Linked DNA regions of Homo sapiens: region 2 is linked to region 1. The links are contacts of gene promoters, found by promoter capture Hi-C in blood cells and fetal thymus (Javierre and others, 2016). All regions are on one chromosome and are shown on one strand. Each heading gives the region's core, a stretch centred on a gene start or on the middle of the fragment in contact. The rest is flanking DNA. Distances are from core to core; before and after follow the strand shown. Region 1 overlaps FAM107B (family with sequence similarity 107 member B). Region 2 holds the start of RPP38 (ribonuclease P/MRP subunit p38).

Region 1 (7,365 bases), core at 2,387-4,886:
AGAAGTGCTGAGACTCCCTCAAGTTCTTTTGATTTTGAGATGGGGCAGGATAGACAAAGCCGTGACCCAGTGGAAACTGGCTTGGCCATTTCTTCTCCAGCTTTTCCCACCAGCCTTGGAACAGCTTCCACACTTCTCACGTCTTCTGATGGCTTTCATGGTTTTATTCACCATCCTTATAGCCACTCCATTGTTTGTATAGTTAATAGATCTCTTTCAAAGCCTCTAGTGGTTTTTTAATGATCCTCTGTGGGTTTTGTGAATTGGGCACCAGCTTCCCTCACCTGCCTCTCCATTGTTTTATGTTTGCTAGGAGCCCTTTAGGGGTCAGTACGGTGGTTGCTGATGACACAACTGATATATTGTGATGCTCCATTCTTCAGGAGAAGGCTTTGTAACAAATGTTGGCATGTTCATTAAAATAGTGGTGTCTTCACCAGTGTTCAGTGTTGACGTTGAGAAAGATGAGTTTGACATTCTCATTGAGCGACAGAAAAATTAAGGAAAATGAGTTGTTTCATATGCCTTTAAGATACATAGCCCAAGTGTGAGCGATTTACTTATCTATTTAAGACAGAGTCCCCGTCTGTCCCCCAGGCTGGAGTGCAGTGGGCGATCTCAGCTCACTGCGGCCTCCTCCTCCCAGGTTCAAGCAATTCTCATGCCTCAGCCTCCTGAGTAGCTGGGATTACAGACCTGCACTACCACGCCCAGCTAATTTTTATATTTTTAGTAGAGATGGGGTTTCACCATGTTGGCCAGGCTGGTCTCAAACCCCTGGCCTCATGTGATCTGCCCACCTTGGCCTCCCAAAATGCTGGGATTACGGGCGTAAGCCACCACGCTGACCCAGTTTTGAGCTAGTTAGCTTGACGCCTGAGCTCTCCCGACTCCTCCTCTGAATATGTGTGCTTCCTTTGTGCCCATCTCAGCTCTCTGTGTTGGTCACTCTCCTTTGAATGTCTGTACCTTTTCTGCAGTAGATGTTTTACCAGATCTTTATTTAGCCACAGTTGGGATTAACTGTCACCTAAATTCCTGATGAAAGATGCACAGGGTGAGTCTTGTGGCCTGCTGGACTTTTGCAGGTGATAAGCTGTCCTCCACCTACTTCTGTGTCTACTGATTGAGTTGTTTGCTTAAGAAGAATAAGGTGCGTTTGCCTTATTGCTTTATTGCGTTGTTGTGCTAGTTGTTATTTTAATACTGTTGTATAATTAAATATTAAATCAACAAAAGATGAACACCAAAAGAAAGAGGGTTGTGATAATCAAAATCAAGTCAATTGCTTTGACAAGAATGAACATGAGCAGCTTAAAACAAAATGCTGTCAAATTAGGTGTGGGTAAGAGAATTGTATCAGATGGATAAACTAGTATCAGTCAAGAAGGATGCTTTACTCAGGTTGCTTTGCAATTCTCTCCACATTCCTGTTCCCCTTTGAAGAGGCAAACTAGAAATTGTGTAGTTAATGAATGCATTAGGAGTGTGGTGATTTCTACAGGAAAGAAATCCCTGTGATTTCTACAGGGAACTCCAATCAGAAGATTTATGTTTAAAGGAAAACTGTGAGCCTGCAGTCAAATAAACTGGGACACAAATGCTCAACATATGTTTATGTTAAATTAAGTGTTTAGGGCATACATTATGTTTCTGTAATTTCCTGTTCTGATTAACTGACCATGTACTTGAACCAAAATAGCCAATAAGAGTGTGTCTAGTGTACGGAAGCTTTAATGTGCTGCTTAGATGCCTTCTCTTCCAGGAAGCTTTCTGACTTTCTCTCTCTGGCCTGGTTTAAGAATCTCATGCCTGTAATCCCAGCACTTTGGGAGGCCAAGGCGGGTGGATCACGAGGTCAGGAGTTCCAGACCAGCCTGGCCAACATAGTGAAACCCCGTCTCTACTAAAAATACAAAAATTAGCCAGGCATGGTGGCATGCACCTGTAGTCCCAGCTACTCGGGAGGTTGAGGCAGGAGAATCTCTGAACCAGGGAGGCAGAGGTTGCAGTGAGCCGAGATCACACCACTGCACCCCAGCCTGGGCAATACAGCGAGACTCCATCTCAAAAAAAAAAAAAAAAATCTCTCATACTAGCTCCCAGGTGCTTGTCCATCACAGCATTTATTGTATTATGTTTGCTCCAATGTCTGTCTCCTCTGCTAGGCTGTAAGTCTGCTGAGGGCAGTGACCTCATTTTTCATCTCCATATTCTTAGGTCCTGACATATTGCCTGGCCCCCGTTGGATGCATGGATGTTTATTGAATGAATATTGAAAGATGGACTTTATTAAATGTGTTGATGGAGAAGCCAAGATGAAAAGCCAGGAATGTTACTCCATGGAGAGACTGTGGAAAAGCTTTGTTGGTATAAGCGGTCATGTTTTGGGGTATTTAAGATGCATCTGATTAGTTGGAAGAGAAAAGACCTGGAATCACAGAGCAACTTGAACATATTTTATTGTTAGTGTTCATTGACTTGGCAGACCCTCTCTTAACTGCAAGGTACTTCTGTACATTTTTTTTTACTCTGAAGAATTTTTCCTTCCCTTTCTTTTTGCTCTCCAAGCGTTATACTCCGCTTTCAGCAGCTAACAAGCGAGCTGTGGAATGGGGCTGGTGCCACCCCACATCGGCTGGGAAGGCCTCAAAAAAAGCCAAATCCTGTTTCAAATCTTGTTTATGCTCCTTCCTCTCTTCCCCAGCTTCAAATCAACAGATGCTTCTAGTCTGGGAACCTAGGGGAGTTCTCAGGGCCATGTATCCTGTTTCTTTTAATAGAATTGCAGCCTGACTAAGGTAAAAATTAGTTTCCTTTTTATATTCTTTAATTCCTTGTCTTCACTCTTTAATCAAATGTCTTGTTTTAATTTTTCCTTGCCCTGTGGCGTTGGCTTATGTCTAGCCACAAAATGTCCCATTTCATATACGTTTTAAAAAGTGGACCACAGGAGGAAATATTTCATCCAAAGGGAATATTATAGTTTGAACACTTAAGATCTAGAATCAAAGAGTCTGCAGTAGGAGTCAGTCACAGAACACAAATAACAGGGCCACAGAATTTTTCTGTTAAACAGAAAAAGTAAGAAAGGAGTCTACATAATATAAACAGCAGTTTAATGTTGCTTTCAAAACATCGAAATGTGAAACCAAATCTCACTCTCCTCACTGGCTGTGGACATGCCTCTTCCCTGAAATTCCCTGAAAAGAATGCCAAATTTAAAAAAACAGAGAACCTAAGAAATAAAATGGTCTTTATTGCAAAAGTCATGATTATCTACATTAAAAATCCCAAAGAACTATTTAAAAAATGACTAAGAAATATAATATGTGAGTTTGTCAAGTTCATAAGATACAAGGTCAATCTGTGGGAATCAACTGTATTTTTAAATACAAGCAATAAATAATTGGAAATTGAAATTCTAAAAATGTATAATTTACAATAACATCAAAACCAAGAAATACTTAGGGATTACTTTAACAAAATGTATGTAAGGTTTGTATGCTGGAAAGTACAAAACATTGATAAGGAAATCGAACAAGACCTAAATAAATGGAGAGATATACTATGTTCATGTGTCAGAAGACTATATATTAAGACATCAGTTAAATGCGGCATGTTCTCACTCATAAGTGGGAGTTGAACAATAAGAACACATGGACACAGGGAGGGGAACATCACACACCAGGGCCTGTGGGGGGATGGCGGGCTGGGAGAGGGATAGCATTAGGAGAAATACCTAATGTAGTTGACGGGTTGATGGGTGCAGCAAACCAATATGGCACGTGTATACCTATGTAAGAAACCTGCATGTTCTGCACATGTATCCCAGAACTTAAATTATAATAATAAAAAAAATACAGTAAGCATTTTGAAAAAAATCAGCGTTATTCTAAAATGTATATGAAAGCAAAGGGCCTAGTACAACCAAAATAATTTTGGAGAACAACAAAGTTAGATGACTCACAAAACCTGAATTTTAGAGTTACTGTAAAGTAATACAAATAAGAAAGGGTGGTGTTGATGAAAGGTTAGATATACAGAGACATGGAACAGGATAGAAAATCCAGAAATAGGCCAAGCGCGGTGGCTCATGCCTGTAATCCCAGCACTTTGGGAGGCCAAGGTGGGCGGATCACGAGGTCGAGACATCGAGACCATCCTGGCCAACATGGTGAAACCCCGTCTCTACTAAAAATACAAAAATTAGCTGGGCATGGTGGCACGCGCCTGTAGTCCCAGCTACCCAGGAGGCTGAGGCAGGAGAATGGCTTGAACCTGGGAGCGGAGGTTTCAGTGAGCCGAGATTGTGCCACTGCACTCCAGCCTGGCGACAGAGCGAGACTCCATCTCAAAAAAAAAAAAAAAAAAAAAGAAAGAAAGAAAGTCCAGACGTAGATAGACACTTACACGGTCAACTGATTTGCAACAAAGCTACCAAGTTCATCAATGTATAAGACATAGTCCTTTCAAAAAGCAAACAATGGAACATCTGTATACTAATGAAAAAAAAAGAAATTCAACCTTTACACCATTGCCTAGCACCATATGAAAATATTAATTTGAAATACGTCATAGACCTAAATGTAAGAGCAAAAACTATAAAACTTCTAAAAGAAAACATAAGAGAATGTAATTGTGTGCTTAGCTTGGGCAAAGGTTTTTTTTTTTTTTTTTTTTTTTAGCTAGGACACAAACACAAATCGTAAAAGAAGGCATGGATAAATAAGCCTTCAAATTTAAAGTTTTTTCTTCTTCAAAATACATTGTTAAGGAAATAAAAAGAGAAGTCATAGATGGGGAGGAAATATTTAGAAAACACATGCCTGTAAAAGAACTCTTACAACTTATTAAGAAAATACACACAACCAATAAAAACTGGATAAAAGACTGGAACAGAAGCTTCGCTAAGGAAGATATATGGATGACAAATAGCACATGAAAAGGTGCTCAACATAATAAGCCATTAGAAAAATAAAAATTAAAACCACTCTTCACCTATTAGAATGGCTAAAATGAAAAACACTGCTAGTGTCGACTGCTGATGGATCATAGAACAACCAGGACTCTCATGCATTGCTGGTGGGAACGTCAATATGGGCACTTTGGGAAAAAGTGCCCATTAAGTGAAATGTACACCGACTGACCGTACTGCCTTATTTTCCTAGGGTTGCTGTAACAAAGTATCGCAAAGTGAGTGGCTTAAAACAACAGCAATTTATTTCTCGCACTTCTGGTGGCTACAAGTGTTGGATGAAGGGATCTACAGGCGGTGCTCCCTCTAAATCCCTCTGAAGCTCCCTCTGAAGGTTATAGGAGAGTTTCCTTCCTCATGTCTTCTAACCTCTGGTACTTGCTGGCAATCCTTGGCACCCTTTAGCTTATTGATACATCACTCCAATCTCTGCCCCTGTTGTCACAAGACCATCTTCTTCCTGCGTGTCTGTTTCTGTGTCTCGTCTCCTCTTATGAGGATACTTACCAGTCAGATTAAGGGCCACCGTACTCCAATATGACCTCATCTTAATTACATCATCTGCAGTGACTATTTTTTTTTTAAGCAGTCTCACTCTGTCGCCCAGGCTGGTACCCAATGGCATCATCTCGGCTCACTGCAACCTCTGTCTCCCGGGTTCAAGCGACTCTCCTGCCTCAACTTCCTGTGTAGCTGGGATAACAGGTTCACACCACCATGCCTGGCTAATGTTTGTATTTTTAGTAGACACGGGATTTCGCTATGTTGGCCAGGCTGGTCTTGAACTGCTGACCTCAAGTGATCCACCTGCCTTGGCCTCCCAAAGTGCTGGGATTACAGGCATGAGCCACCAAGCCCGGCCCGTAATGACTTATTTCCAAATAAGGTCACATTCGAAGACTGGAGATTAGGCCTCAACATCTTTTTGGGGGGCGTGGGGGCAAGGGACAGAATCCAACCCATAATACCATACAACCCGACAGTCCCACTCCTAGGTTTTTACCCAAGAGAAATGAAAACATATGACATATGTTCTCACACAGACCTGTGTGAGATGTTTATAACGGCTTTATTCATAGTCACCCCAAACTGCAAACAAGCCAAGTTCATCAACTGTAAATGGATAAACTGAGATAAACAATACAATGGAATACCACTTGGAAATAAAAAGAACGAATTACTGATACACCCAAGAACATAGAGAAATCTCAAAAGCGTCTTGTGAAGTGAAAGCAGCCCTGAAGGAGACTGAACTGTATAATACCCTTCATGTTGCATTCTGGAAAAGGGAGAACTATGGAGCAAAAATTGCAGAGACTGTGGGTGGGGAGGAGGGAACTCACCACAAGGGGACATGAGTCAACTTTTTTAGGTGGTGAAATATTCCCTATGATAATTGTGGAGGTGGTTACACAACTGTATTACATGAGTCAAAATTAATAGATCTGTAGACTAAAAAGAGTAAATCTTACTGTATATAAATTTCACTTCAAGAAGCTGGGTTTGGTGCTTCACGCCTGTAAACCCCACCTCCCAGCTTCAAGCAATTCGCCTGTCTCAGCCTCCCAAGTAGCTGGGAAAACAGGCATGCGCCACCATGGTAATTAGGCACCAAACTCTGGGTCATGGGCCTGTCTCAGGCCTTTTTTTTTTTTTTTTTTTGGCGTCTACCTGAAACTGTCTCTAGTTGTTTATTCTTTACTCCTGACCGGACAGCACCTTCCTAGATGCAGCAGTGTCCTTTCTTCCCTACCAGGACAGCTTGCTCTTGCTTTACATGTGTTGAAGCTCTGAGCACACAGTTTTACTTTTGTCTCTGCTCAAACACAGATAGCCACTTACGTGTTTCATCACTTCTAAGCAGCCATCAATTGTGAAATTAGGATATCTTAAGCTTCAGATGCCAGAATGTACAATTTTATGTTAAATCATATTCAGTTTAGACCATTTTTGAAAAGACAGTGTCTCCTGAGTGGCTTGACTCCTTGTGAGCAAGACCCAGGCTCTCCCTCACTTCCTGTTGCAAGTTTGAGAGACATGTATCCTCTCCAGGGATTAAAACCAGTAAGGCCCCCCTGCTCCACCTTCAAGTGCAAGCCCCTTCTCTTTGCAGATGCTTTTATCTTGATATGCAACAATTGCTAGCAAGGTGCAGAGCAGGAATTACACACAGGTCTCAACAGGAAAGGCTTGTTTCCTGAGTCTTTCATTCACAGTGAAAACCGGGGCATGATCTTCAAAAAAAACTGAAAATATCCCGAGTCAGTTAATTTCCTTTTCCTTTCCAGCCTCTTTATTTCCTTTTCTTCACTCCTGCTGCATTCTTGTCTGTAATTAGCTCTTCCTCTCGGTTCTCTTTCTTCTCTCTTTTCTCCTATTGCTCCTCT
Region 2 (7,365 bases), core at 1,281-3,780, 480 kb before region 1:
TGGGTTCAAGCAATCCTCCCACCTCAGCCTCATGCTGAATAGCTGGGATTATAGGCGCATACCACCAAGCCCAGAAAATTTTTTTAATTTTTAAATTTTCTGTATAGGCTGGGCACGGTGGCTCACACCTGTAATCCCAGCACTTTGGGAGGACAAGCTGGACAGATCACTTGAGGTCAGGAGTTCGAGACCAGCCTGGCAAATATGGTGAAACCCAGTCTCTACTAAAAATACAAAAATTAGCCAGGAGTGCTGGTGCACACCTGTAATCCCAGCTACTTAGGTGGGTGGCTGAGGTAGGGGAATTGCTTGAACCCAGAAGGCGGAGGCTGCAATGAGCCGTAATTGCACCACTGTGCTCCAGCCTGGGCAATGGAGTAAGACTCCGTCTTAAAAAAAAAAAAAAAAGAAATTCTATAGAGACAAGGTCTTGCTTTGTTGCCTGGGCTGGTCTTCAACTCCTAGGCTCAGGCAATCCCGTAGCCTCGGCCTCCCCAAAAGTACTGGGATTGAGGGCATGAGCTACCATGCCCCGCCTAAACTCTAATGTGACATAAAAGGCCCTCCACACTCCAGCTCAATCTCCCACTTAGGCCCTCTTTCTCCTTAGGCCCCACCAAGCACAAGTCCTCAACACCGAACAACATACTATTTAATGAGGCCAGCATTTTCCCACCTGCAAGTCTTTATACACATTAGTCCCTCTGCCTGGAATACCACTCCCACCCTCAGCCGCAGGCCCCTTCCTTTCTTCAACAAATATTTATCGATTATCCACGATGTGCCAGGCCATAAAGATTAAGTATTTTTTCTCACAGACCTCATGAGCTTAGAGTCCACGAGGAAAAAATATTAGCAAGTAATTATACAATAAAGCCTGATGCACATGAAGGTCAGGGAACAGTATGCTTAGGGAACATCCAGCAGAGGCCTAGCTTAGTTGAGGGGGGTGGGAAAAGGCAGTCCTCACAGAGGAACTTTTTTTTTTTTTTTTTTTTTTGAGACGGAGTCTCATTCTGTCGCCAGGCTGAAGTGCAGTGGCACAATCTCGGCTCACTGCATCCTCCGCCTCCAGGGTTCAAGCGATTCTCCTGCCTCAGACTCCCGAGTAGCTGGGACTACAGGCACGGGCCATCACGCCCGGCTAATTCTTGTATTTTTAGTAGAGACGGGGTTTCACCATGTTGGCCAGGATGGTCTCGATCTCCTGACTTTGTGATCCGCCCGCCTCGGCCTCCCAAAGTGCTGGGACTACAGGCGTGAGCCACCGCGCCGGGCCGGACCTCTTAACCTACATCTAAACAATGCCTACCAAAGGAAGTATGGAGTAAAGAAAGGTATCTCAGTATTAAAAGAAATAAGTTGGCTGGCGAGGTGGCTCACGCCTGTAATCCCAGCACTTTGGGAAGCCCAGGCGGGCGGATCACTTGAGGTCAGTAGATCGAGACTAGCCTGACCAACGTGGTGACCCGTCTCTACTAAAAATACGAAAATTAGCCGGGCGTGGTGGCAGGCGCCTGTAGTCCCAGCTACTCGGGAGGCTGAGGCAGGAGAATCGCTTGAACCCGGCAGGCGGAGGTTGCAGTGAGCCGGAATCGCGCCACTGCACTCCAGCCTGGGCGACTGCTATGTCTCAAAAAAAAAAAAAAAAAAAAAAACACGTTCAAATAAGTTCAATGTGGCTGGGGCAGAGATGCTAGAGAAAGCGGTGAGAAACTAGGAAAGGTGGGTAAGGACCAGATAATGAAGACCTTTGCAAGCGTTCCAGTGTGAAGCAACTTTAACATCTAAAGCAGAGGTGTCGTGATTAGAAAGACGTTATAGATCTTTGTGGATCTGGGCAAAGGAAGAGTCCCCGAGCAGCAAAGACGCTCCTGGAGTCGTCCAGGTTAGAAATGACGGTGGCCTGCACTAGAGACGCCGCAGAAAGGACTGGAGAAAAATACATGTTAGTCGGAAAAGAAGGTAGAATCTCCCGACACAGTAGTGACCAGCTGGAAGTAAAGTTGAGAACGGTATTGGTGGTGACTCCCGGTTTCTGGATCCCGCCGGTAGCCGAGGGGCGACGGCCGACCCAAAGCTCACCTCCCCACTGCACGCCGCCCCTGGATCGAGTACCTTGGTGCTTTACTATTTAGCACACGGAAGTGTTGTTCTGTTGTCCGTGTCTCCTTGGAGACCGTGGAGAACAGAAGGGCCGGCGGGGGTTTTCGCTTTGTACTCCTGGTGCCCAGCCGGCGCTGCAATCCAGCAGAGGAGCCGGACTAGAAACGCGGAAGCTCTGGGTGCACGCGCCCGGCCCGGGACTGGGCGGCCCAACCGGGAGGGCGGCGGGTCCTGCGGCCACGCAACAGGCGTTGGGGAAGCAGCAGAGACCCTGCGTGCGCGCGGGCTTCGGCCTCCAGATTCCGCAGAGTCCCGGGCCCGATCCCCCCGGGGCTGGCCTCCTGCCCTACGTGGGCCCCGCGCGCCCACCTGGAACTCACGATGGCGAATCCGTGGTCACCTGAAGGCAACAGCACCGGCGCCCAGTGCGCCTGCGCCGCGCGTGCGCAGAGCCCTCGCCTCCCGGCCTCGCCTCGCAGACGCGACGGGCCGGGGAGGAAGCGCTCGGAGCAGTGCAGGTTTCGTTATCCTGTGTTAGGTCACTCCGGAGAGGGGAAAGCGGCCCACAGCGTCGCGCGACCCGGAAACGACACAACGAGGCCCAATCTTTTAGACTCGAGTTTAGGCCCCGGGGTGGAGTCTCCGGACCGGGTCCCCCCACCCCCGCTACAGGGGCAGTGCGCAGGCGCGAGGTATGTATCGCGAGACCATGCGGTTGCCCGGGTAACCAGACGCTCAGGACTTGGACCGTCCAGTTGTTCGGAGGCCAGCCTATAGCCAATGGTATCCCGAGGGCTCGCTCTCTCCGGGCGTTTGTGCTCCCCTCTCTCTTCTAACCCAGTTTCTACCTTTCAGTGCTTTGGAATCTTAGCCCTCTGTCTCTATTCGCTTTTCTGTATTTGCCTTGCCTCAGGGACGCACAACCCCAGCCCCTGTCCCAGTGAGCCCGTCGCCATGGAATCCCTGCAGACTCCCCAGCACCGCGAAAATCAAGATAAAAGGGAGAAGGAGTATGGGGTAAAACACATGCCTATGGGCAATAATGCAGGGAATCTTGAGCCCGAAAAGAGAAAGGCAGTAAGAGTTGCCTTGAGTTCAGCAACAGCTGCACAGAATATCCCGTCCAGTGTCCACTGTGGCTGCTCCAAGCAATGGAGACTCAGGCTACCATCGGAGTCGCTGCAAAGTCGGGGACAAGTGATGAAGCGGCCGAATAACATTTTAAAGCTCAGGAATCTGGATCTGTTGATCTACCCTTGGCCAGAACTTAGAAGACGGCAGGTTGCTTCTGACCTAATGAGCCTCCTCCTTCTCCCCGCTTTTTCCGGCCTTACTTGGGCCCCCTTCCTTTTCCTCTTTACGTATCTGCCTCCTTTTCTCAATCTCCTCACTGTTGGTTTTGTATCCTATTTTCTGGTATAGTTTCTGTGATTTCTTTCTTTTATTTATTATTATTATTGTTGTTGAGACAGAGTTTTGCCCTTGTTGCCCAGGCTGGAGTGCAATGGCGCGAACCTGGCTCACTCCAGCCAGCGCCTCACAGGTTCAGGTGATTCTCCTGCCTCAGCCTCCGGAGTAGCTGGGGTTACAGGCACGGGCCACCAGCCCAGCTAATTTTTGTATTTTTAGTACAGACGGTGTTTCACCATGTTAGTCAGGCTGGTCTCGAACTCCTGACCTCAGGTGATCCGCCCACCTCGGCCTTCCAAAGTGCTGGGATTACAGGCATGAGCTACTGTGCCCAGCCTCTATGATTTCAATTTTCATGTTTAAGTACCTATGTAGAACCTAACTGTCCATAAGTAAACACAACAAAAAAAAGATTTGGCTTTTGGTCAAAGATCATTGGAGGTTACACAGGGTAAAGTGCAGTATGATTTTTATCACAATTAGAAAGATTAAAAAGAGATGACAGTGAGTTTGTGAGAACAGGTTTGTGTTTCATAAAATGAATTGTGTGAGTTAGCTATGATGAACTGCAAGCAGCTTGCATTTCCAAAGACAAATAGAGACACAGGAATCTAATTAAAATGCTAAAGTAATGGGAAGGAGACATCCATACGTTTTTGTCCCCCTAAGGTTCCAGATTTATAGTTTGAGCATCATCTCGGCTTACATTTTCTCTGTGGAAAACATCAGCCATTACATTACTTGGCTCTGGGTTGAAATCCTAACTTCATCAACTGAAGATCTTATGACCTAGGCAAGTTTATTAACCTCCTCTATGACGTGATAAAAATAGTATCTCTTGTGCGGATTAGAAGACATGTTCCTCTATGCTAAGATGATTATTATGTGCGGAACACATAGTTAAGTGCTTGATAAATTGAACTATGGCAAATCCAGTCTCAACCGTGGCAAAACTAAGTTAATAAAAATGAAACATAACCTTTATTATTTTAGTGCTTGTGTTTTATTTTAAAACTAGCAGTATAATTTCCACGAGGATTTTGCTAAAATTAACAAGTACATTTCGAAAGTAATTTCTGTCCCTCTTGTATCACACAAACATTACAACCAAAAAGTAAAAAACATTCTCCCATGACCCAATCACACCCATTTTTTTCTTTAGTGTTCCCTTCTACTTTGTTTCACATATGTGCATGCTTTTACATTAAACTAATACAGATTAAGTCTTCTGATTTTCTTTACACATAACGCTTTTTCATGTTTCTCAAATTATTACTTTACATATTTGATATCCTATTCTGAAGAAACGGTTTTTTTTTTTTGGAGACAGGGTCTTGCTCTGTTGCCCAGGCTAAAGTGCAGTGGCACCATCTCAGCTCACTGCAACCTCCTCCCAAGCTCAAGTGATCCTCCCACCTCAGCCTCCTGAGTAGCTGGGACTACAGGAGCATGCCACCATGCCTGGCTAATTTTTGTACTTTTTGTAGAGACGGGGTCTTGCCATGTTGCTCAGGCTGGTCTCAAACTCCTGGGCTCAAGTAATGCTCCTACCTTGGCCTCCCAGAGTGCTGGGATTACAGATGTGCACCACCACACCTGCCAGTTTTACTTTTTAATGACAGTTGTTTTATCCTGTAAAATCTGTTTGGTCTTTGTATATTAGAGCTTTCTTTTTATATTAATTCTAGAATTGGACTACTGTTTGATTTGTATGCTTTCCATTATTTGACAATGACTTAAGATTCTGAGTGATGGCCGGCTGTGGTGGCTCACACCTGTAATCCCAGCACTTTGGGAGGCTGAGGCAGGAGGATTGCTTGAGCCCGGGAGTTCAAGACCAGCCTAGGCAACATGACGAAACCCCGTCTCTACAGAAAAAAAAAAAAAAAAAATTAGCTGGGCATGGTGGTGTGTGCCTGTAGTCCCAGCCACTCCTGAGGCTGAGGCAGGAGGATTGCTTGAGCATAGAAGGTGGAGGCTACAGTGAGCTATGATCACACCACTGCACTCTAGCCTGGGCAACAGAGTGAGACCCTGTCTCCAAAACAAATAAATAAAAAGATTCTGAGTAATAAATTAGATCATTAGCCACAATCCTTTGATGAAATAAGTGAAGGTCCCAACAAGAAAATTTGTCAATAGAAGAATGTAAGGGAATTGACCACCAGATTCTTCTTTTCCTCCATGGTATTCTGACCTTAGCTGTGTGTGTGTGTTTGTGTGTGTGTGTGTGTGTGTGTGTGTGTGTGTGTTATGTAACAGTAGTTGTTATGTAAACAATTCATTATTTTAAATCAGTTACTAAGAATAAACTTTAATGATGAGATGCAAAATGAATACTGAAAGCTTTACTAATTGGAACGGTATAGTACTCCAAAGAATATCTGTGTCCATAGAGACAAGTGAAGGTGAGGAGTTTCAAGCAGTTGAGCAATTCGCAGGTCTCACAAAACAGCAAAATCAAGACCAACATGATGTCAGCTCCCTGCATCTCTAATCCCATGGGACAGCATTCCCAATCTCAGAGGTCAGATGACAGGTCTTATGAGTGGTGGGTCACTCTGTCGAGGAACAAACTAAACTTCAGCAAGCAGTTCTACAGATTTACACAGAAGCCTGCGGCTCCATCCTAAAGTGGAGCAGGTTGTAGGGGGTGCGGAGAAAGAAGGGGAAGATGGAAAGCCCTAGTCTCAACTAAACTAGGGACATGGATGAGAAACAGCCTTGTGAGACTCTCCCACAAGATAGGGAAGCCCTGTGGGCAAGGTCATCCCTGAGCTGAATGGGAACCTCCCTGGCATGGCCTTTTGTGTCCCCACTGCCAACGTGTCAGTTGTGGGCCTGAACTGCCATCTGGAAAAACCTGCCAAATAGGATGACATCAGGAAGGTGGTGAAGCAGGCTTCAGAGGGCTCTTCAAGGGCATCCCGGGCTACACCGAGCACCAGGTCATCTCCTCCAACTTCAACAGTGACACCCACTCTTTCACCTTCGATGCTGGAGCTGGCATTGCCCTCGACGACCACTTTGTCAAGCACATTTCCTGATATGACAGTGAGTTTGGCTACAGCAACAGGGTGGCGGAGCCCACATGGCCTCCAAGGAGTAAGACCCCCGGACCACCAGCCCCAGTGAGAGCACGAGAGGACGAGAGAGGCTCTCACTGCTGCGGAGTCCCTGCCCCACTCAGCCCCCGCCCCCACTGAGAATCTCCCCTCCTCACAGTTTCCACGCAGACGCCCTGAAGAGGGAGACACCATGGGAGCCTCACCTTGTCGTGTACCATCAATAAAGTTTCCTGCACTCAATCAAAAAAAAAAAAAAAAAAAAAAGGGAAGCCTTGCCTTGCTCCCAGGGAAATCACAGGCATTCGGCGAGGACTCAGGGTAGACCGCAGTCAGGCCTTGGCTCTGTGGCTATGTGGAGATGTCCAAGGTTGTCAGGGGTCTCAGCAGTGCTGTTTTATGAAAACGGGGAAATTTGAAAGACATTTAATCCTTCCTTTTTATCCCCCTCCTCCCTTTCTTCCCCCCCCCCCCGCCTTTTCCTACAGGTACAATATTCATTGAATTTTAAGTGTTGGGGATAAAGTGGTGAGCCAGAGTTCTAAAGGAGGAGAAACGGTAAACAAAGTAAACGATTTAAGTTGTCAGATGATTCAAAGTGCTACAGAAAAAAAGCAGGGAAGGCCAGGCGCGGTGGCTCATGCCTGTAATCCCAGCACTTTGGGAGGCCAAGGTGGGCAGATCACTTGAGGTCAGGAGTTCAAGACCAGCCTCGCCAACATGGTGAAACCTCGTCTCTACTAAAAATACAAAAATTAGTTGGGCATGGTGGCGCACACCTGTA

What was found. The method cuts DNA at HindIII sites, captures the fragments that hold promoters and counts their contacts. A CHiCAGO score of 5 or more calls a contact.
Region 2: the fragment with the promoter of RPP38 here is called in contact with a fragment that was not itself captured in region 1 in 1 of 17 cell types (neutrophils); the score reaches 5.1 in neutrophils.

The regions. Positions count from the first base shown.
Region 1 is chr10:14,617,030-14,624,394 of GRCh38, reverse strand. The region is part of intron 2 of FAM107B (family with sequence similarity 107 member B); the gene reads left to right. Among named protein-coding and RNA genes, the nearest start is that of FAM107B, 150 kb to the left of the region's middle. The HindIII fragment of the contact is 2,543 bases long and covers 2,365-4,907 here.
Region 2 is chr10:15,092,520-15,099,884 of GRCh38, reverse strand. RPP38 (ribonuclease P/MRP subunit p38) reads right to left here and starts at 2,530. Exons shown (of 3, transcript NM_183005.5): 1 at 2,119-2,530. It overlaps RPP38-DT (RPP38 divergent transcript), which reads left to right and starts at 2,566. Exons shown (of 2, transcript NR_160789.1): 1 at 2,566-2,798; 2 at 3,020-4,500. It also overlaps the pseudogene GAPDHP45. RefSeq lists enhancers at 1,823-1,962, 2,023-2,112, 2,414-2,985 and a silencer at 2,253-2,612. The HindIII fragment of the contact is 10,027 bases long and covers 1-5,864 here.